Linked DNA regions of Homo sapiens: all the other regions are linked to region 5. The links are contacts of gene promoters, found by promoter capture Hi-C in blood cells and fetal thymus (Javierre and others, 2016). All regions are on one chromosome and are shown on one strand. The core of a region is centred on a gene start or on the middle of the fragment in contact, and the rest is flanking DNA. Distances in the headings are between cores, read along the strand shown. Region 1 overlaps BUB1 (BUB1 mitotic checkpoint serine/threonine kinase). Region 2 overlaps LOC105373554 (a long non-coding RNA gene). Region 3 overlaps LOC107985933 (a long non-coding RNA gene). Region 4 overlaps ACOXL (acyl-CoA oxidase like). Region 5 holds the start of BCL2L11 (BCL2 like 11). Region 6 has its middle 26 kb from the start of MIR4435-2HG. Region 7 has its middle 17 kb from the start of ACOXL.

What was found. The method cuts DNA at HindIII sites, captures the fragments that hold promoters and counts their contacts. A CHiCAGO score of 5 or more calls a contact.
Region 1: a contact is called between a fragment that was not itself captured here and the fragment with the promoter of BCL2L11 in region 5, in 4 of 17 cell types (neutrophils, total CD8 T cells, naive CD8 T cells and 1 more). The highest score is 8.7, in neutrophils.
Region 2: a contact is called between a fragment that was not itself captured here and the fragment with the promoter of BCL2L11 in region 5, in 1 of 17 cell types (neutrophils). The highest score is 5.9, in neutrophils.
Region 3: a contact is called between a fragment that was not itself captured here and the fragment with the promoter of BCL2L11 in region 5, in 8 of 17 cell types (neutrophils, M2 macrophages, erythroblasts and 5 more). The highest score is 14.6, in neutrophils.
Region 4: a contact is called between a fragment that was not itself captured here and the fragment with the promoter of BCL2L11 in region 5, in 1 of 17 cell types (fetal thymus). The highest score is 5.1, in fetal thymus.
Region 6: a contact is called between a fragment that was not itself captured here and the fragment with the promoter of BCL2L11 in region 5, in 5 of 17 cell types (erythroblasts, neutrophils, total B cells and 2 more). The highest score is 9.1, in erythroblasts.
Region 7: a fragment that was not itself captured here is called in contact with the fragment with the promoter of BCL2L11 in region 5 in 1 of 17 cell types (neutrophils); the score reaches 7.2 in neutrophils.

Annotation. Positions count from the first base shown.
Region 1 is chr2:110,669,262-110,671,961 of GRCh38, reverse strand. BUB1 (BUB1 mitotic checkpoint serine/threonine kinase) reads left to right here. Exons shown (of 25, transcript NM_004336.5): 5 at 1,394-1,437; 6 at 2,409-2,509. Among named protein-coding and RNA genes, the nearest start is that of BUB1, 7.5 kb to the left of the region's middle. The HindIII fragment of the contact is 5,248 bases long and covers 1-2,700 here.
Region 2 is chr2:110,686,874-110,689,573 of GRCh38, reverse strand. All of the region lies in intron 1 of LOC105373554 (a long non-coding RNA gene), which reads right to left. Among named protein-coding and RNA genes, the nearest start is that of BUB1, 10 kb to the right of the region's middle. RefSeq lists enhancers at 149-1,120, 1,121-2,092. The HindIII fragment of the contact is 1,780 bases long and covers 429-2,208 here.
Region 3 is chr2:111,615,787-111,618,486 of GRCh38, reverse strand. It overlaps LOC107985933 (a long non-coding RNA gene), which reads left to right. Exons shown (of 3, transcript XR_001739641.2): 1 at 1-619. Among named protein-coding and RNA genes, the nearest start is that of MIR4435-2HG, 120 kb to the right of the region's middle. RefSeq lists enhancers at 208-880, 1,604-2,105. The HindIII fragment of the contact is 3,790 bases long and covers 1-2,700 here.
Region 4 is chr2:110,756,453-110,759,244 of GRCh38, reverse strand. The region is part of intron 1 of ACOXL (acyl-CoA oxidase like); the gene reads right to left. Among named protein-coding and RNA genes, the nearest start is that of ACOXL, 25 kb to the right of the region's middle. The HindIII fragment of the contact is 4,274 bases long and covers 1-2,792 here.
Region 5 is chr2:111,119,467-111,122,166 of GRCh38, reverse strand. BCL2L11 (BCL2 like 11) reads right to left here and starts at 1,253. Exons shown (of 4, transcript NM_138621.5): 1 at 979-1,253. RefSeq lists silencers at 521-815, 1,149-1,688 and enhancers at 699-818, 1,969-2,048. The HindIII fragment of the contact is 10,886 bases long and covers 1-2,700 here.
Region 6 is chr2:111,519,837-111,522,536 of GRCh38, reverse strand. No RefSeq gene overlaps it. Among named protein-coding and RNA genes, the nearest start is that of MIR4435-2HG, 26 kb to the right of the region's middle. The HindIII fragment of the contact is 429 bases long and covers 1,057-1,485 here.
Region 7 is chr2:110,713,747-110,716,446 of GRCh38, reverse strand. No RefSeq gene overlaps it. Among named protein-coding and RNA genes, the nearest start is that of ACOXL, 17 kb to the left of the region's middle. The HindIII fragment of the contact is 787 bases long and covers 909-1,695 here.

The DNA.
Region 1 (2,700 bases), core at 193-2,692, 450 kb after region 5:
TGTGAGCCACTGCGCCTGGCCTGTGATGAATATATTTCTTAATAACATTGTTCACATTTTTAAAACTTTTTCTATGATTAAACATATCTCACTTAGGGAATTGTGAAAATACAGAAAACGAAAGAAAACCTTTTGGCATTTTCCTTGGCGCTTTTTTCTCTTCTTGTTACAGGATTGCATGCATGCTTTATGTACATATACAGCTTTGCGTCAAGGTCTTTTTCCTTCATCATAAAATTATTTTTTAGTATATTTCCTATTTTTACTTAGTTTCTTTTCATAGATTCTCAGAATTGAAACTATTGAGTCAAAGAGTATATGAAGAGTTTTTACACTTGTGGTGCATGTAACCAAACTACCTACTTGAAGGTTATACCAATTGTTTACTCTTCCCCTCTCATTAGTAGAATTTGAGACCTATTATCTACTGCACCCCTTGCCAGCCTTTAATATACTCATCTTTTCAGTTTTTCTGTAGTACTCATGCTTTTTTAAAACGTCATTGAGATTTTTCAAACACACATAAAAAAGAAAAAATTAGTATAATAAACTTCCATTTATCTATCACCAACTTTTAATAATTAACATTTTGTGTTTCTCAATGCTGACAAATTTTAAAGCCGATCCATAACAGCAAAATATTTTTCCCCAAACCCTATTGTAAACATCTCTAAAATCTTATTTCTTACAGAGCCTTATTCGATAATCATACCTAAGAAAACTAACAATAATTATTTAATATGTAATTTTCAGTCTTTCCTCATCACGTAAAATGGCTTCTTAACCATTGGTTTGTTTGACTTAAGAGCCAACAAGGGTTACCACTTGGTTGCTTTATAGTGTGCACTTTGGCTCGCATCGCTCAGAAATGTCAGGCATGGGAATTGCACATTACCCGACAGGTAGAGTTGAAAATGAAATATGCCATGAAATGACATATTTGAGAACTTCTCACAGAGTATGAACAATGATGTCTGCCTTTTGAAGCAGTAATCTAAGTACTTTTGTACTTTCACTTCTTTCTTCCAAATATATTCATTATGTTCCAAATGTATAAAGAACCTAAAGTAGGAGGTCAAACATCCTGTGTTAGAACATTTGCAGACTTGACACGTGGAGAAGAGGGTGCATTTTTATATGAATTTGAGAAATACTAACATAAACTAAGCAAAAGGAGGAATTTTTGTAATACAGATAATGTATTGGATATAAAAATATTTCCAGAATTTTATTTTTTAATTTCGAAGCAACTCTAAAATGCAACTGTACATTCTCTCTTGACGTCAGACTTTACTAGCTTATAATAAGTTGTCTATGGTATTTAGTTTTCACTCTAACAGCTATGTACTGTAAGTTTATAATCTACATTGATGCCTTTTCTGCTGTCATTTAGGTTATTTCAGACACGCCTCACTGAAACCCATTTGCCAGCTCAAGGTAAAATCAGGCTTTCTAAAATGCCTGTTGTTGTCCATTTAGTCTTGGATTTGTACTAGTATTTTCTTTTCTTTAAAAAACAAACCCGGCTGGGCATGGTGGCTCACACCTGTAATCCCAGCACTTTGGGAGGCCAAGATGGGTGCATCACCTGGGGTCAGGAGTTCGAGACCAGCCTGGCCAACATGGTGAAACCCCATCTCTACTAAAATACAAAAATTAGCCAGGTGTGGTGGTGGGCATCTGTAGTCCTGGCTACTCAGGAGGCTGAGGCAGGAGAATTGCTTGAGCCCGGGAGGCAGAGGTTGCAGTGAGCTGAAATCATGCCACTTCATTCCAGCCCGGGCGACAGAGTGAGACTCCGTCTCCACAAAAAAAAAAAAAAAAAAAAAAAAAAACCCATCCAATTTTTAATGAAAACCAAATTGCACTCTCAGGTAACAGAGAAAGCATTCTGATCATCATAATGCCCACTAAATAGCCCCAAAGAGCAGAGGCTTTGTCTTAGCATTTTAAAAGCTCAAACCTGCAAAAAAAAAATTGATAATTTCACTGTATTTGTAGGATTTTTTTTTAATTCAAAATTGACCAAAATACTTAATCTGGACTCCATCTATTTTGAATGGAATCAAATGTGTTTAATGCAACTTTTAAAGAAATACAGCCATTTCTTTTTCTTAGAACTAAGTATCACATTTCAGCAATAAGCATTGCCTATCCTATCTGGTTGTTTAAAATTATTAGTTAGGTTTTACATTTCTTTTGGGTACTTCCTGGCATGTTGAGTTGATCAGAAAATTGTATAATACTTATTTTAAAAACGTTTTAGTTGAAATTTCTGAGACAGTGTGAATGAGTTGATTTACTTCTTATGATTCCTACTGGAAGGATCAGGGGAATTTATTATGTGATAATTTTACTTACGGTTTTACCCTTAATTTCTCCGTATTTTATCCTCTTTTCCCTCATAGCTAGAACCTCAGAACCTCTGCATAATGTTCAGGTTTTAAATCAAATGATAACATCAAAATCAAATCCAGGAAATAACATGGCCTGCATTTCTAAGAATCAGGTAATAATGACATTTGTAGCTTGTGTGGAAACTGGGAATGGTATTGAATGGCCAGCCTGGCTGCCTTCTACATCCACTTTGACATCTCATTTCTTTGATCTTTCTCTTCATGGCTCTGAGCTCCATGTCAGCCACCTGCTCCTGTGGCAACTTCCTGGGCCTGTTATTCTCCCACACAGCTCACCTCAAAT
Region 2 (2,700 bases), core at 69-2,568, 430 kb after region 5:
CCATCTCTACAAATAATTTAAAAATTAGTGGGGTATGGTGGTACCTGCTTGTGGTCCAAGCTACTTGGGAAGCTGAGGTAGGAGGATCACCTGAGCCTCAGAGGTCGAGGCTGCAATGAACCATGATCAAGCTACTGCACTCCAGCCTGGGCCACAGAGCAAGACTTCGTCTCAAAAAATAATAATAAAATAAACTTCCATCAGGACTATCCCTGAGATTGGATGTTTTTAAGTAAACAGGTCTGAGACTTGCTCACCTCTCTTTTTCCAGATTAGTAAGTGTCCAGCTCTTTGAAGGGCCAGAAGCCAATACAAGCTGAGCAAGAATGATGATTACTTTCCAACTTGGTAAGAGGACAAGGTTGCTGTCCTGAGAATATGATTTTATAAAAGTAGAGATGCTGTTAAAGCTCATGAAATTGTAAGCTTATGTTCAAACATGCAGATCACCTCTGTGGTATAATAAAAAAAAAAAAAAACTGCTGGTCATTTTCCTGGGTTCCTGGTTCAGAGCTTCAAAAACCCTTGGAATTTCCTGAGTCATAGGAGTGCCTTTGTTATGCTAATGAGGTGACCCCATCTGATGACTGGAGAAACACCATGATCCTTTGTCTCCCGCTGATTAGATAAACGACATGGATACAAGTGGGGTGGTTTTAAGGAGCGGGAAGTTTAATAGGCAAGAAAGAAGGAACACACTCCCCCATAGAGAGACAGAGGGAGAGGGGCTCCTAACAGAGAGAAAAACCCCTGTGTGGCAGAAAAGTCATCAGTTATATTGGGAGGCTGGAGGAGGTGGTGTCTTATTTGCCTAGGGCCCAGGGGATTGGTTTGACCAGGTGTATCATTTATGTAGCCCACAAAAAGCCTGGTCCTCCTACCCTAGCCTTTTAACATGCAAATGCAGGTCGCCATGATGTCCTGCACAGGTGGTGTTATCTGTAGGTGGCCATGACACTGTTGTACCCACTAGCGAGTTAAGAAAACGCCACACTTTGAGACGAATTAAGAGTCCTCTATTAAGCCGGCGGCCAAAGAGACAGCTAATGCTCAAAATTCTCTCGGCCACGAGGAAGGGGCTCGATTAACTTTTATACCTAGGTTTAGGAAGGGGAGGGGGACTCAAATGTAATAATTTTACAGAAGTAAAAACATGCAAGAATCAAAAGAAACAAAATGGTTACAGAGTGATAAACAACTTAAAAGACAAATGGTTACAAGAAGAGCAAGGGTACCAGGAGCAAGGTTCTAAATCTTTCATTATAATTAGATATAGGGTCTATGCCGGACACGAACTCAAGGTTTTATGTTGTCATCTCTCGGAGAAAAATCCTGGGAACTTCATACATTGTTGGTGTTAGTACCTTATCAGTTAATTGGGCTCCTTTGAAATGCTGAGGATCTGTTTACCCAGGCCAACTCCTTACGAAAGGGGGTTGGGTGAGGAGCCCTTAGTGTCTTGTAAATTAAGGGGTCAGTTGGAGTTTGTCCGGCCTTCCTAGCTAGAGAGAGTCTTATTTACATGAGAAGCAAGGCTAGGTGATTAAAGAGACAAGCAAGACAAAATTCAAAGTAACGAGTTAAAGTGAAAACAAGGTTAGGCATTTCAACACCTGGCACACATGGTGACAAAGAGAAGAGGGGAGGAATTGCCAATTGGATGGACCTAGTTTCTAATCGCTTCCATTTGCATATCAATACTTGCCGGCCTGGCTTTCCAAGCTGCTTTTCTATTAGGAAAGAAACGTTTTGGGAGTTGCTTTTATTAAAAGAAATTTCCACTGAGAACCCTCACCCTTTCTGCCTACCTAAAAATTATTTCTTAGTAAATCCTGTATTACCATGGTGGGGCCCCTAGACAGCTTCAGGATGGAAGCTGCTCAGCAGAAAGACCAAGCACCTGATAATAGTGTTGATTGAGGCTTTGAGCCCTGTGAGATCGGCTTGTTCTCCAGACCTCCAATATGCTGAAGACTGATTTCGATCAAGTAGCTAAGTATTTATTCAATCATGTTTATGTAATGAGACCTCAATAAAACCTCTGAACACCAAAGCTCAGTGGAGCTTTGTGGTTGGCGAACACATTGATGTGACAGCAGAGTGACATACCAAATTTCCCAGGGAGGGGGGCATGAAAGTTCCATGTCTAGGACCCTCCCAGACCTCATCTTAGATGTATTCTTTATAATAAAATTATAATAATAAGCTTAGGGCTTTCCTGAGCTCTGTGAGCCATTCTAGTGAATTAGTGAACCTGAGGGGGTCATGGAAACTCCCAATTTAGTGGCCAGTTGGTCAGAAGTGCAGGTGGCCTGAGAACCCCTGAACTTGCAGCTGGCATCTGAAGTAAGAGTAGTCTTACTGGGGACTATGCTCTTAAACCTGCAGAGTCTGATGCTAACTATGGGCAGTTAGTGTCAGAATTGAATTGCAGTACATCCAGGTGGAGTGGAAACAGAACACATTCTATCAGAATCAAGAAAGGGATTGGCCAGTCACCTCTCAAGAGCGATGTGGTCAGCTGTCACTGCCTACATGCCCAAACCACCAGCTTTAAGATAAATCTGGCCAGGGCCTAGTGGCAGGTGGCTCTCTTTCCTCAGAGCTCAACACTTCCCTGACATGTGATTTGATTTTTTTTTTTTTTTTTTTTTTGAGATGGAGTCTCAATCTGTCACCCAGGCTGGAGTGCAGTGGCGC
Region 3 (2,700 bases), core at 27-2,526, 500 kb before region 5:
ATCCCAGGACTTGGGGCTTCCCGGTGAAAGCTGCTGATTTCTGTGACCTCTTGGATGGATGCCTTGCGTCCCAAGGGCAAAGATCACGCTCAGATCCCTGTCTGGGGCCTCACTTCTTGGCCGCCTGTCTGCCGCTCATGCTGCTGCCGCCTCCCCAGGGCTTTTTGGAGGATAATCTAGAAAGAGGCAGCCTGGTATGCATACGGAACGGAAAAAGTAATGATTCTGGAACTGGCTGGATCTAATTTAAAATCCTGGCTCTGCAACATGCTGGCTGGGTGACTGTGGGCAGAGCCTGGCTCCCATGTGTCAGGCACCCTGTAACTTCTCCAAGAGCCCTGCAGATTCAGAACATCAACCCCACTTCCCTGGGTTGGGGGAGGCAGAAGAGCTGCCCGGGCTACGCAGGCCAAGGCAAGACCAAGCTGGATTTGAGCCCATGCTGTTCTGACCACAAAGCCACCCTCTGTTGTCCACGTGACACTCCAGTGCCACAGGCTGGGAGTGCCCCAGGAGCACTGGAGTTCCTGTAGGTCCCATAGCTCTTCCTATGGGTGGAGGTGAGGGGTGCACAGGAAACTCTTCCTGCCTGGAGAAGGTGCATGCACACGTGCGTAAGGTATGCATTCTACTCATGGGTGGCACATTTATTTAACTATTCCTTTACAGTCAGACATGGCGATCACTTCCAGTTTACTGTTCATCAGTAAAGCTGTGTAAAATATTCAAAATCCCAAGTCTTTTCTCCATTCCTACTTCCTTATGAGACATACCTGAAAGCCGAGTCACTGTGTCTCTGTATGAAAAATGCAGGCCTTAAATAAAATACCTGTTGTTAAATTGCCATCAATAAGGGCTCTGGTGGGACTTGTACTCCCCCTGCTCAGAGACTTTTTCCCTGTAGCTGGAGGCTGTTTGTGAGTTAAGGTCAAGGCTATGTTGTTTTGATCTTTGGTTAAGACTAACAAAATACCCAGTGTGTGTATGTGCGTGTGTATGGGGGGGAGGGGAGGGCTGCAAAATCAATTTCTACCACAAAAGGGCACCCTCAGTGCCCTCTCCACTGTTTTCCCAATCTATTGTTTAAATCCCACGGTGCATAGGCAAATGCACAGAGAATGTAAGGAAATGAAAAAAAAAAACAAAAAAACAAAACAAAAAAAACAACCAGAGAGGAAAAAGAAAAAAGAAGAATCTTGCCTGGGATAGTGAGTATATAAGAGGTTTTCTTTTTCTAGTCAAAATGTTTTTACAGTAAAAATGGGAGGGGAGGGAAAGGATATCCTCAGCCAGACTATGAACCCAACCCTCTTAGATGTTAGACACTTGGGAACAGACAGGACCTGTCAATTAATTTTTAAGGTAAAAAATGTGGAGATCCTTTTGTTCCGCCTGGAAACTGAAGTCCAAGCGTGGTCTGTCTGCCCTCTGGCAAGGCAGGCTGCTGACTTTTCTCTCCAGCTGTGCACCTGTGTGCAGGTGCCTCTCAGGTGTCATGCATCGAAGTGAAGTTGCTCTGACCCAGCCTCTGAAGAGGACAGAGGGGCTCTGATGCTGCTCCAGTGAGCACTCTGTCGGCTGAAGTGCGGGTGCTCAGGCTCTGGCTGACCAGGGCAAGCGTGGGGTGAGAAAGAGCAGCCGCATCTGGATGTGCAGGCCAGTGATGCCCAGCAAGGCTGCATTCCTCAAACCCCAGGGACAGGGAGCCATGGACTTCACCTGGTGACCTTCAGATTCTGCCCTGAGCTTAACACGGTACAGGGGGAGGGCAGATACCATCTTCATTTTACTTCTGGCCTCCTCAGTCACTGGGAATGGTGATGCCAGGACTTGACTGTAATTGGAGATAGGCCCTTTGAAGAGGTACTTAAGTTAAAATGAAGCTGGTAGGGTGGACCCTGATCCAAACTGATGGGCGCTCTTAGAAAAAGAGGAAATTTGGACAAAGAAGAAACACGAGGAGGTCTTGTTCATAGAGGGACAACCACGTGAAAAGACAGCGAGAGGGCGGCCATCTGCAAGCCAAGGCGAGAGGCCTCGGCAGAAACCAGTCCTACTGGCACTTGATTGGGACTTTGAGCCTCTAGAACTGTGAGACATAAATTTCTGTTGTTTAAGCCACCCAATTCATGGCATTTTGTTTTGGCCATCCTAGCAAACTAATACAACCAGCCTCTCTCATCTCACACACAATTTAATAAAACTGGAGTCATTCTGCATTGCAGTTCTGTATCATGCTTTATTCACTTCATCTTTGCATTGTGAGCCCTTTCCTGTGTTCACGGTTCCCTGCTGACCAGGAGGATAAGGTTTGAATGCCACAGCCCAGCACTCGTGATCATCCATGGACAGCCCTTCTTCTACCCAGCCATGCTGGTTTGCTCTCTGTTTCCCAGACTCTGTATGTCTGTCTTTTCTGCTCCTGCCAGCCCCTGGCATCCATTAAAAGTGATTTTCCCTGCTGTCATTCAAGGCATGGCTCATACTGAAACCTGTCTTGCCATGTATCCCGCTTCATGGCAGGGCATTTATAAATCAACCTGTGTCTCCAGCATTTACCATGCTCCCTTGTAACACATATTATGTCTTCACCCAGCCTTAGGAGATGGTGATTATTTTAAAATGAGGATTGAGAATTGTTAGTCTGTTCTGGCATTGCTATAAAGAAATACCTGAGACTGGGTAATTTATAAAGAAAAG
Region 4 (2,792 bases), core at 244-2,743, 360 kb after region 5:
AAAGAAAATTAACAAAGATATTTAGGACCTGAACTCAACCTCAGGATCAAGTAGACCTGACAGATATCTACAGAACTCTCCACCCAAAAACAACAAAATATACATTCTTCTCATCATTACATGGCACTTACTCTAAAACTGATCACACAATTGGAAGTAAAATACTCCTCAGCAAATGCAAAGGAACTGAAATCATAACAAACAATCTCTCAGACTGCAGAGCAATCAAATTAGAACTCAAGATTAAGAAATTCACTTAAACCCACACAACTACAGGAAACGGAACAACCTGCTCCTGAATGAGTCTTGGGTAAATAATGAAATTAAGGCAGAAATCAAGAAGTTCTTTGAAACTAATGAGAACAAAGAAATGATGTACCAGAATCTCTGTGACGCAGGTAAAGCAGTGTTAAGAGGGAACTTTATAGCACTACATGTCCACGTCAAAAAGCTAGAAAGATCTCAAGTTAACAACCTAACATCTCAACTAAAAGAACAAGAGAACCAAGAGCAATAAACTCCCAAAGCTAGCAGAAGACAAGAAATAACCAAGATCAGAGCTGAACTGAAGGAGATAGACAAGAAAAACACTTCAAAAAATCAATGAACCCAGGAGCTGGTTTTTTGAACAAATTAAATAGACCACTAGCTAGACTAATAAGGAAGAAAAGTTAGAAGAATCAAATAAACTCAACCAGAAATGATAAAGGGGATATCACTACTGACCCCACAAAAATACAGCCATCAGAGAATGGCCATACTGCCCCAAATAATGTATAGATTCAATGCTATTCACATTAAACTCCCATTGACATTCTTCACAGAATTAGAAAAAATCATTTTAAAATTCATATGGAACCAAAAAGGAGCCCAGATAACCAAGACAATCCTAAGGAAAAAGAACAAAGCTGGAAGCATCACACTATTTGACTTCAAACTATACTACAAGGCTATAGTAACTAAAACAGCATGATACTGGTACAAGAACAGACACATAGACCAATGGAACAGAACAAAGAACTCAGAAATAAAACTGCACACCTACAAGCATCTAATCTTTGACAAACCTGACAAAAACAAGGAATGGGAAAAGGACTCCCTATTTAATAAATGGTGCTGGGAGAGCTGGCAAGTTATAGGCAGAAAATTAAAACTAGACCCCTTCCTTACACCATATATAAAAATTAACTCAAGTTGGATTAAAGACTTAAATGTAAAACCCAAAATTATAAAAACCCTAGAAGAAAATCTAGGGAATATCATTCAGGACATAGGCATGGGCAAAGATTTTATAATGAAGACACCAAAAATGACTGCAACAAAAGCAAAAATTGACGAATCGGATCTAATTAGACCAAAGAGCTCCTGGACAGCAAAAGAAACTATCATCAGAGTGAACAACCTACAGAATGGGAGAAAATTCTTGCAATCGATCTATCTGACGAAAGTCTAATATCCAGAGTCTATGAGGAACTTAAACAAATTGACAAGAAAAAAAAAAACCCCATTAAAAGGTAGGCAAAGGACCTGAACAGACACTTCTCAAAAGAAGACATACATGTGGCTAACAAACATATGAAAAAAGGCTCAACATCACTGATCATTAGAGAAATGCACGTCAAAACCATGAGATACCAGCTCACATCAGTCAGAATGTTGATTATTAAAAAGTGAAAAAACAACAGATGCCGGCGAGGTTGCGGAGAACGAGGAACACTTTTACACTGTTGGTAAAAGTGTAAATTAGTTCAACCACCATGGAAGACAGTGTGGTGATTCCTCAAAGACCTAGATGCAGAAATACCAATTGACCCCACAATCCCAATACTGGGTATATACCCAAAGGAATATAAATCATTCTATTATAAAGATACATGCATGCATATGTTCACTGCAGCACTATTTACATTAGCAAAGACATGGAATCAACCTAAATACCCATCAATGATAGACTGAATAAAGAAAATGTGGTACATATATACCATGGAATACTATGCAGACATACAAAGGAATGCGATTAGGACATTTGCAGGAACATGGACAAGTTGGAAGCCATTATCCTCAGCAATCTAATGCAGGAATGGAAAACCAAAACAGCACATGTTCTCACTTATAAGTGGGAGCTGAATGATGAGAACATATGGATACATGGTGAGAACAACATGCACTGGAGCCTGTCTTGGGGGGGGTTGGAGGAGGGAGAGCATCAGGTAGAATAGCTAATGGATGCTGGGCTGAATACCTAGATGATGAGATGATCTGTACAGCAAACCACCACGGCCCACGTTTACCTATGTAACAAATGTGCACATCCTGCACATGTACCCCTGAATTTAAAAAAAGCTGAAGAAAAAATAAAAGGGGCAAATCTCCCGTAAAATTTTTTTTAAAAAGATGTGTGATAAGGCCTTAAGTAACTCAAATTGTGCAAAACAGGCAGATAGACCAATAGAATAAAATAGAATATTGAGAAACAGAAGTAAGTATATATGGAAATTTAATATATGTAAGACAAATGTGGTATATCAAATCATGGGAAAAACAAACATTACTGAAACATCCAGCTGGGTGGCCAACTGGAAAGGAAAATTAAGTCAGATCCCCATTTCACACCACGTACTAGAATAAATTCCAAATAGATCAACAATTGACATGAAGAAAAATAAAACCACAAAGTATTAAAATAAAACCTGAAGAATTATTTCATAATTTTAATCCAAGAAATCAGTAGATGAGGGCCACTAATGCACAGATAATACACACATCGCCCAAAGGAACTGAAGAAATGATCA
Region 5 (2,700 bases), core at 4-2,503:
CTCCTCCAACAACTTCCTCTCTCTCCTGGTGCGCCGCAGACACGAGTCAAAGCCGAAGAGCCACCCCTGGCCGCGGACGCGCACGTCCGCGACCATCGAGTAAATTCACACCCTCCGCCCTGGCGTCCGTCGGGCCCTCCACCAGCAGCGCCAACCCTGGGGCAACAGGTCCCAGAGGGCACGGCGCCGCCAGCCTGCACCGCGAACCGGGTCGGGTGTGCTCGGGCATGCGTGAGCCGCTAAGATAGCCCGGCCCAGGGACCGAGCAGGTTCTGCCGGCCGCGACTAGTCCCCTGCGCGGTCCAGGTGGTCAGGGGAGGACCTAGATTTCTCGCTGCCAGGGAATCGTGCGGATGGCACAGGCCGCAGGACTCCTGCAGAGCAAGCAGGGGCCCCAGGTACGCTTGAGAAAGCGAACGCAGCAGTGGCCCCGAAACCTTGGCCTGAATGAGTAAAAGGAAAAGCCGTGTCTCGTCAGTTAAATCACCACCGCAGTTCCGCAAATCCTCCGCAACAGGCCCACGCGCCCCAAAAAACCAAGACACGAAACACCCTCACACTGCGCGGCCGCTACTCTGAGGGCGCCGGAGCCGGCGGCGAGACTTTCCAGCTGGGCGCACAGCCCGATACTACGAGCAGGTCCTCAGCTCCCGGGCCGGCGCCGAAAGGCACGCGCTGCCTCTCCTCCTGCCCGGACCTACGACCCTTCACCAGGCCCGCGCGCAGCATCCCGTCCCAAGCCGCACTTCGGCCAAGAGCCTGCAGGTTCCGCGTGAACGACTTTTCTTTAAAGAGAACCTGCCCGAGAGGGAACCCGATCCACACGGATCCCCACCTCCCGCCGGCGACAAGCGGCGCCGATGCAAGCGTCTCCGCTCGCACGTGCACGGGAAGCGGGCAGTAGGTGGTGCCGTTCGGGCTCCAGCGCTAGTCTTCCTTCGGTGCCAGGCCCGCGCCCCGGGATTTGGAGGTATTTACCTTGCGTTTCTCAGTCCGAGAGTCAGAGTCAGACATTTGGGGGAACAAGGGCCAAGAAAGGGCGCCGAGGCGGTGGCGGCGGGAACGCAGCGAACCGAATACCGCGATGATGCGATCGCAGTGTGGCAGGGTTCGCAGGGTGGCTGCAAGAATCAAGTGGTGGTAGTGGCGGCGGCGGCGGCGGCGGCGGCGGCGGCGGCGGCGGCGGCAGCGGCAGCGGCGCTGGACGCAGAGCTCCAACAAACTGCAGACCAGGCGGCTGCGCGGAGCGAAGTGAAACCTGCGCGGCCCTGCAGCCCAGCTCTGGCTGGCGGCCCCGCTCCTACGCCCAATCACTGCGGACCCCGCCCCCGCTAGGTCCCGCCCCGGCGCGCGGGCTGGCAAGCTCCGCCCCCCTCGGCGCCGCGGCCGCCGGCGCGTGCAGGCTCGGACAGGTAAAGGCGGGGGTTGCCCCGCTGGGTTGCCTCCCGCGCGCGCCGCCGTCCCTGGCGTGTTTACCGGAGTAACTCTGCCTGCTGGCGGCCATGTGCGCGCCCATCCCCCACCCCGAAGTGTACCCTAGCCTCCCGCTCACCTACCCCAACCCGGCGGCGGCCGCGGCGTGCGCGGCACAGAGGGGGCGCTCCGGTCACAGCCTCCGCTGGCCCGGCCGGCGGTGTGAAGCCTCGGGAGGCGCCCTGCGCTCTCACTGTGCCCTGAGTTTCTAAGCCGCTCTGGGGCAGGCGCGGGGACTGGGTTGGTCCTCGCGAAGGCGCGGGGCGAGGTCTTTGAGCTCTCCTCCCTCTGAGGGTCCCTGGCGCCGGGCGGGACGCGGATCAGCAGGCTGCGCATCTTCCTCGCCCGGGCCTCTCGCGGGACTCAGGCACCCTCCTCCTGCCACCCCGCAGGGGCTCTCCAGCTTTTCTTCCGCGCCCAGTCGCCCTAAGAGACAGAGGCCGTGGGGGCAGGACGCGCCCAGAAAACGGCCAGGCGCGGTCCCAGTGGGCGTCTTCGCCGCCTCCCGGGTGAGGGCGGGAGGCATGTGCAAAGCAGGTAAAATAGGGAAATGAAAAAAGCACTCAGAAAAAAAAATCCTTTTAGGAAAAAAAAAAACGAGGTGAATGGCGGCCTCCAAGTGAGAGAGAACGTTGCGCACTGCATTTGGCTAGGACCCCCAAGATTTGCTGGGCTCGCAGATAACCTCGTAGGAGCTCCCTCGACTGGCTGAGGCCAGTGAAGGCAGAACAGCTGAGTTCGGGCCGCGGTGCGGGAGCGCAAAATACCCCGTCCCTCCTCCCCTCCCGCCTCCCCACCCATCCCTTTCCTCCCTGGAGTCCGCAGCACCTCACTCTACCTCCCAGGAGACCAAACTCCATGCCGCCTCTCCAGTCCTCTGAGTCTGCACCCGGGTCTGCTCTCCCAACGCGTGGCTGGCGCCCCAACCCCGGCCCTCCTGTCTGCTCCTCCCGCGCCTCAGTTCCCCAGCCCCAGCTTCTAGACAACTGCAGCGGGGGTGTGGGAGGTGGATCGGGAAATGGAACATCCCGCAGGTGAGGTCAGGCTAGATGGATTAAGGAAACTCTGTAAAGGGACCACCCTACACACCACCGCAGCCGGCAGGGAGAAGGAAGGGGCCTTGCCGTAGAGGAGCAAGTGAGGAGGCGTTGTCCCGCCGTCCGGCCGCCTGGAGCAGTTTTTAAATTCATAAGCGCTTCTGTAACGTCAGTGGGACACAGCGCAGCC
Region 6 (2,700 bases), core at 22-2,521, 400 kb before region 5:
TTTTTTTCCTGAAACACAGATGTACCAAGTTCTTATGAAATTAAAAGGAATCCAGTAACCAAAACCCATCTCCCATCTCATCTGTTGTGAGTGCAAATGTCGCATTTAAAGGCTGGAAAGTACTTGGCCTTTGGCCTGGAGACACGGGGCCCTAGAAGGAGGAACCAGTGGAGAGTCCCACAGACCTGGGTGTTCACCCTTCTCTGCCACCTGATAGCATTTGAACTTGGGTGAAAATTGTAGCTTCTTAGGGCTCAGTTGCCTCATCTGTAAAATGGGGCAAAATCATCCACTTTGCAGAGTTGCTGTGTGGGCTGGAGATACAGAGAATGGGGACCTCTCCTGTGTGTTTAGTAAGTGGTGGGTGGGAGGTGATTTTCCTGGAGTCCGTGCCTTCCTTCTTCACCTCCTTTGGAAAGATTCTTCCCCAGCCTGCTCCTCCCTGCTCTGATCACTTTGCACACATTTTTCTGTTCCAAATCCCAGACCTGGATCTGTAACCCCAGCTTACCTGCTCTGTACACCCCTTCTTGTGCTCTTACCTATGGGCCAGCTTCCCTCCAGGGTCTCGTAGGCCCTGAAAGTACACGCGCCAGACACTGATCTCCTCTTTCCCCACAGGGTGTCTCCTCCTGCCTCCCCGTGCCTGTTTCATCCATCTGATTACTCGGGTGCCTGGGTGGCAAACTCGGAGTCATCTTTGCTTTGCTTTTCCTGTCTCTGATGACCTCCTTTCTGCTCCCTTGCCAGCCCCTTACTCTTGCCTCCGGCATCCTGGCCTCCGGCCAGTCCATTTTCCATATTAAGGGCGGATGCATTTTCTTACCACTCTCCTTTCCTTGGCAGCCTTCAGAGATGGCCTGCTTCTCACCAGGGGAGACACTTGTTATAGGACACTAGCTCTAAATGTCATGAATCAGAAATAAATTTCTAGCCCCACGGTCAGGGTCTTGCGGTCTAATCCCACCTTGTTGTTCCTCCTTTAGCTCCCTCTCCTCCCCAGCTGAAATCATTCCGGTTCAATCCAATCAAGCTAAACATTAGCCAATGGAAGCTTCACATTCCCTACAGAATCCTGCTCTCCGGTTCCCATTCTGCTTTCTGGACTCATCTACTTTACTTTTGGACTACTCTTGCCTAGAATGCATTGTTGACTCCCTACTCTTTAATTTTGTCCAAGCCTTTTCTCTCATCTTATTTACAAAATCAATCCTCTATTGGGTGTTGTCAGTGGGAGTCAGGGTAGAATCCCAGAGAGCAGTAAGTGCACAGAAAACAGGTCAAATGTATTAGGGTTGAAAAATAAATGTTAGAATTTTTTAAACATTCAAAAACCTAGCTTCTTTAAGTTTTAGAGTTCAAATTATAAATTTCATTATTCTACCTACTAATTTAATTTTACAACTTATTAATTACACCCCATAAATATTTTAAACTGCGTGTATGCATCTAATGTATTTGACGGTCTTAAGTTCTCCCAAAGCTTGTAACAAACAAGATCTCTCCAAGAACTTAAAGCATTCTTTGAAATCTGATAAATGAAACATAGAATGCATGTTCATCCTATGTAAAAGCTTACACAAGTCATTTTATACCTTTTGACCAATATCCAGATTCTAAAGTTGAATACCCAATTATACACTTTAAATTGGAGTCACCAGGCTAATCCAATGGATTTGCCAACATTTGCAAAATATTACAAACCTTTTAAAAGTGAAATACACACCAATGGCTCACCAGGGTTAATGTGGCTCTGTATGGGTTTGACAGACTCCCTCATTTCTCAGATTAATTCTAACCTCCTGTGTTGAAATACTGGCCCACCTAAACAGCAAACAAGTTGAGCTTTCCATTGCAAGGACCCACTAGAGGGATTTGGGGCTAAGGCTCAGGATTTGAGTTAGCACAGCCGTGTTTATTTGATTGTAACATGAATGCCCCTACTTACCAAGTGATTGGTCCGTCAGACCACGGTCCTTAGATCAAAGGTACACATCACCCAGCTCTGGGACCCTTCAAATCTGCACGCCCTGGGTTTCCATTTCTGATTCTCCTCTTCACCCCATCTCATCTAGGCTTTAATGACCCTCCATGGGCTTCCCATCAGACCCTCTCCTCCACATACAAATGGCTAGGGCCTCTTTTATCATCACAGATAATTTTAGTGGAATCACAGATAATTTAGTGGAAGGATAATTGTGTCCTTCCCAGATTCTTCTTGTCAAATAAGCCCCAAACGTTGAGAGATGTTAAGATGTCATGGACAGAATTCTGCCTCTCCTGCAGGATCTGCCTCTGGGCCTGTGCACTGTAGTCTTGCTAAGGACAGAGGTCTGGGCAGAAAGGACTGCCCCTCTGTCCATGATCTATTGCACATGGCAGCATTGCCTGTCAGATCCCACATGCCTTTGAAATTGCAGCGGGTCCTCTGCGATCCACCTCCCCTCCTCCCCGCCCCTATGGTAGCCCACATGTTTTAGGTGAGCAATAACTAACTGTGGTCCTGCTGGATGCATTTGCCTGTGAGAGAGGGCCAGATAAGGGGAGTGATTAGCTCAGGACCATACAGAATCGATGCCCTCACTATAAGCTGTGTCACATTTGATGTACTTTCTCCTTCTAGTACAGCTGCTGACATAAGACTAATGGATTAGCTCTTATCCTCATATTCTCAAGGTGGCTTTTAGCTATAGAAACACT
Region 7 (2,700 bases), core at 53-2,552, 410 kb after region 5:
ATATCACATTCATATGGGAGAATATTTGGAAACCTAAGAAAACTGTAAAGAATAAACTCGCTTATACTCTCACCACCTAGAGATTTTAATCGCTAACATTTTAGTAGGTTTCCTTCTTGTCTGTTTATACATTGTATATAGGATCTTTTTCAAATTGTTAATATAAACAACCCCAAGTATTTTTGTATGTAAAAAAATAAATATTTAAAAATCTAAGAGCTATAAACTGGCAAGGGGATATGTAAGTTTTTTAAATATTGGCCATTAATGTCAGCCAGACAGCATATTTTTATTCTTCAGCTCTTTTGTTTTGGCTGGGGCTACCTGAGTCCTCCTTCCAGTTGTCCAACATCACCCATCCACATTACCCCATTTCATCCAGAGGTGATAGGCTCAGGTTAGCACCTTGAGCTGGTGGGTCTTGCAGCACTCCCCCGATGACCAGAAACAGAGCCCTAGACCTAAGTCCAACTGCCCCTGCTGCTCCTGACCTTACTTCTCAGGAAGACCAGGAATGGAGACCAGATAGACCCACTGAAATCCATGGTGGTTAGCAGGAGAGCTGCGGCCATTTGTTCATAAGCCAGGTTGTGGCTCTTTGAGGGGCAGAAGGGGCTTAGGAGTTACCAAGGACCATACATTATAGGAGATTTCACCAGACAGCTTCTGGAGAGAGATGGTTATGAAATTAATTCATCAGACTTTGCCAAGAGATAATAAATTCATTAGCAAGGGGCATCTTTTGAATAGGAGAATTGGCATATGACTGTTGGGTAGGCTAACACCACTAATTCTGAAAACCAAAGGGGTCTTCAGGAAGGACCGCCCAGCGAGAGAGGTTTTTAGATCTGGCTGGACATTACCAATGAGATGCTTCAGAAGTGAAATAGAGCAAATACAGAAAAGCTTACCTGAGTCACATCCTAGGCACATCTGTATAACCAGGGCTAACGATGCTTTCAAATTGTGACTGAAAACTGAAAGATATTTTAGAACACAGAAAACCATGAGATAGACTAAACAGGCCAAATTTCTAATATCTTACCAGAAAAAGAAATATTTCCCCTTATGATGCTAGAAATATAAGCCAGGAGGGAAAGAAGAACCAGAAAACGGAGAAAAGACAAAATAGATCAAAAAAGAAAGACAAACAAAACAGAAAAAGGCAAAAAGAAATCTAGTTGTTAGGTTCTCAGCAGATTTTATTGGTTTCATGATGGCCAACATTAAAAGAAAAACTTTAGCCAAATTAAGTTTAACAAAGTTTAACTGAGCAAAGAAGGATTCGCAAATCCGGCAGCCTCCTGAGCCAGAGTAGGCTCAGAGACTCCAGTGCAGCCACGTGGCGGAAGAAGATTTATGGACAGAAAAAGGAAAGTGACAGTACAGAAAATGGAAGTGAGGTACAGAAACAGCCAGATTGGTTACGGCTTGGCTTGTGCTTTATTTGAACACGGTTTGAACAGCTGGCCACCTTTGATTGGCCAAGACTTGGTGGTTGGCACAAGAGGAGGCTACAGTCTGTTTACAACTACATTTAGGTTATAGTTCACACTGTACAGAGAAACCTTTAGGCCAAACTTAAAATATGTAAGGAGGCAGATTTAGGCTAAACTTGATTTAACATCAGTGATGGTACAGGAGTAAGTGGTGCAGTGTTTCAGCTCAATAAGGGTGTGAACTCTTTTTAAAGCTTGCAAAATCTCAGTATTTCTCCACAATTCAACTTCTTTCTTATCTTGGCATCCTTACAGTAAGGAGCAGTAAAGCAAACAAGAGTACATAAAAACTTCAAAACAAACAAGTTAAAATACTTCAGAAAGAACTACACCCTAAATCACAACAGAACAAAGTGAAAGGGATTTCAGGATATTAGGCTGCATAAATCCTAATTAAAGACACAAAAAGGCATTAGGAAGACAATCTTCCTAGGCTCTACACAAGGAAAAAAAAGGGATGAAGAGAATATATCACAACTAGGTTTAAAATACTCACTGATCTTGGATGTAATGTGGGGATCCTATATTCCTATATGGCTCTCTCTGCTTCCATCTTAGTATATTTACCCCTCAGCATTCTATGGAACTGATTATATGGGGTAGATTTTATTCCTTCCACCTAGGAAAGTCTGGAATCCCTTAGACAAGGGTGCTCAAGTGCCATGAGCCATGAAGACACTGAAGAATCTGCAGGCACATCTGAATATTAGAGCATGCATGGGAAGCGACTGCCCAGCCCATGGGCTTGGGTGGCCATTAGGCTTCCAAATTCCAATATGATTCACACCATTCATAAGACAAGTCCCAACTGGACCCTCCAGGACCTGCTGTTTATGTTTTACCTCGAACAGAAAAGACCACAGAGCCACCCTCTAACATCCTGAATCTATAGACATAATGACACCAGCAACAATGACACTGGTTTCATTCGCATCTGTAGAAGGTCTACTCACACATGGACCCCTGTTTTGAGAAAGATATTGTGGGCAAAAACTCCAGGGACTGCACTCATGTGCAGCTTAAAAGAAAAAGCTACTTCAGTAAGTCTGAAGTTGTCCGTGGCAGCAGCTCCCCACAATACCTGTGTGATGCTATAAAACAGTAGTCAGGAAATGTAAGAAGCATTACAGCCAGCCTCTGAAGATCACACCATCTGTCAAGTCCCCACCTGGGCTGGAATGTGTGTGTGTGCTGATGATAG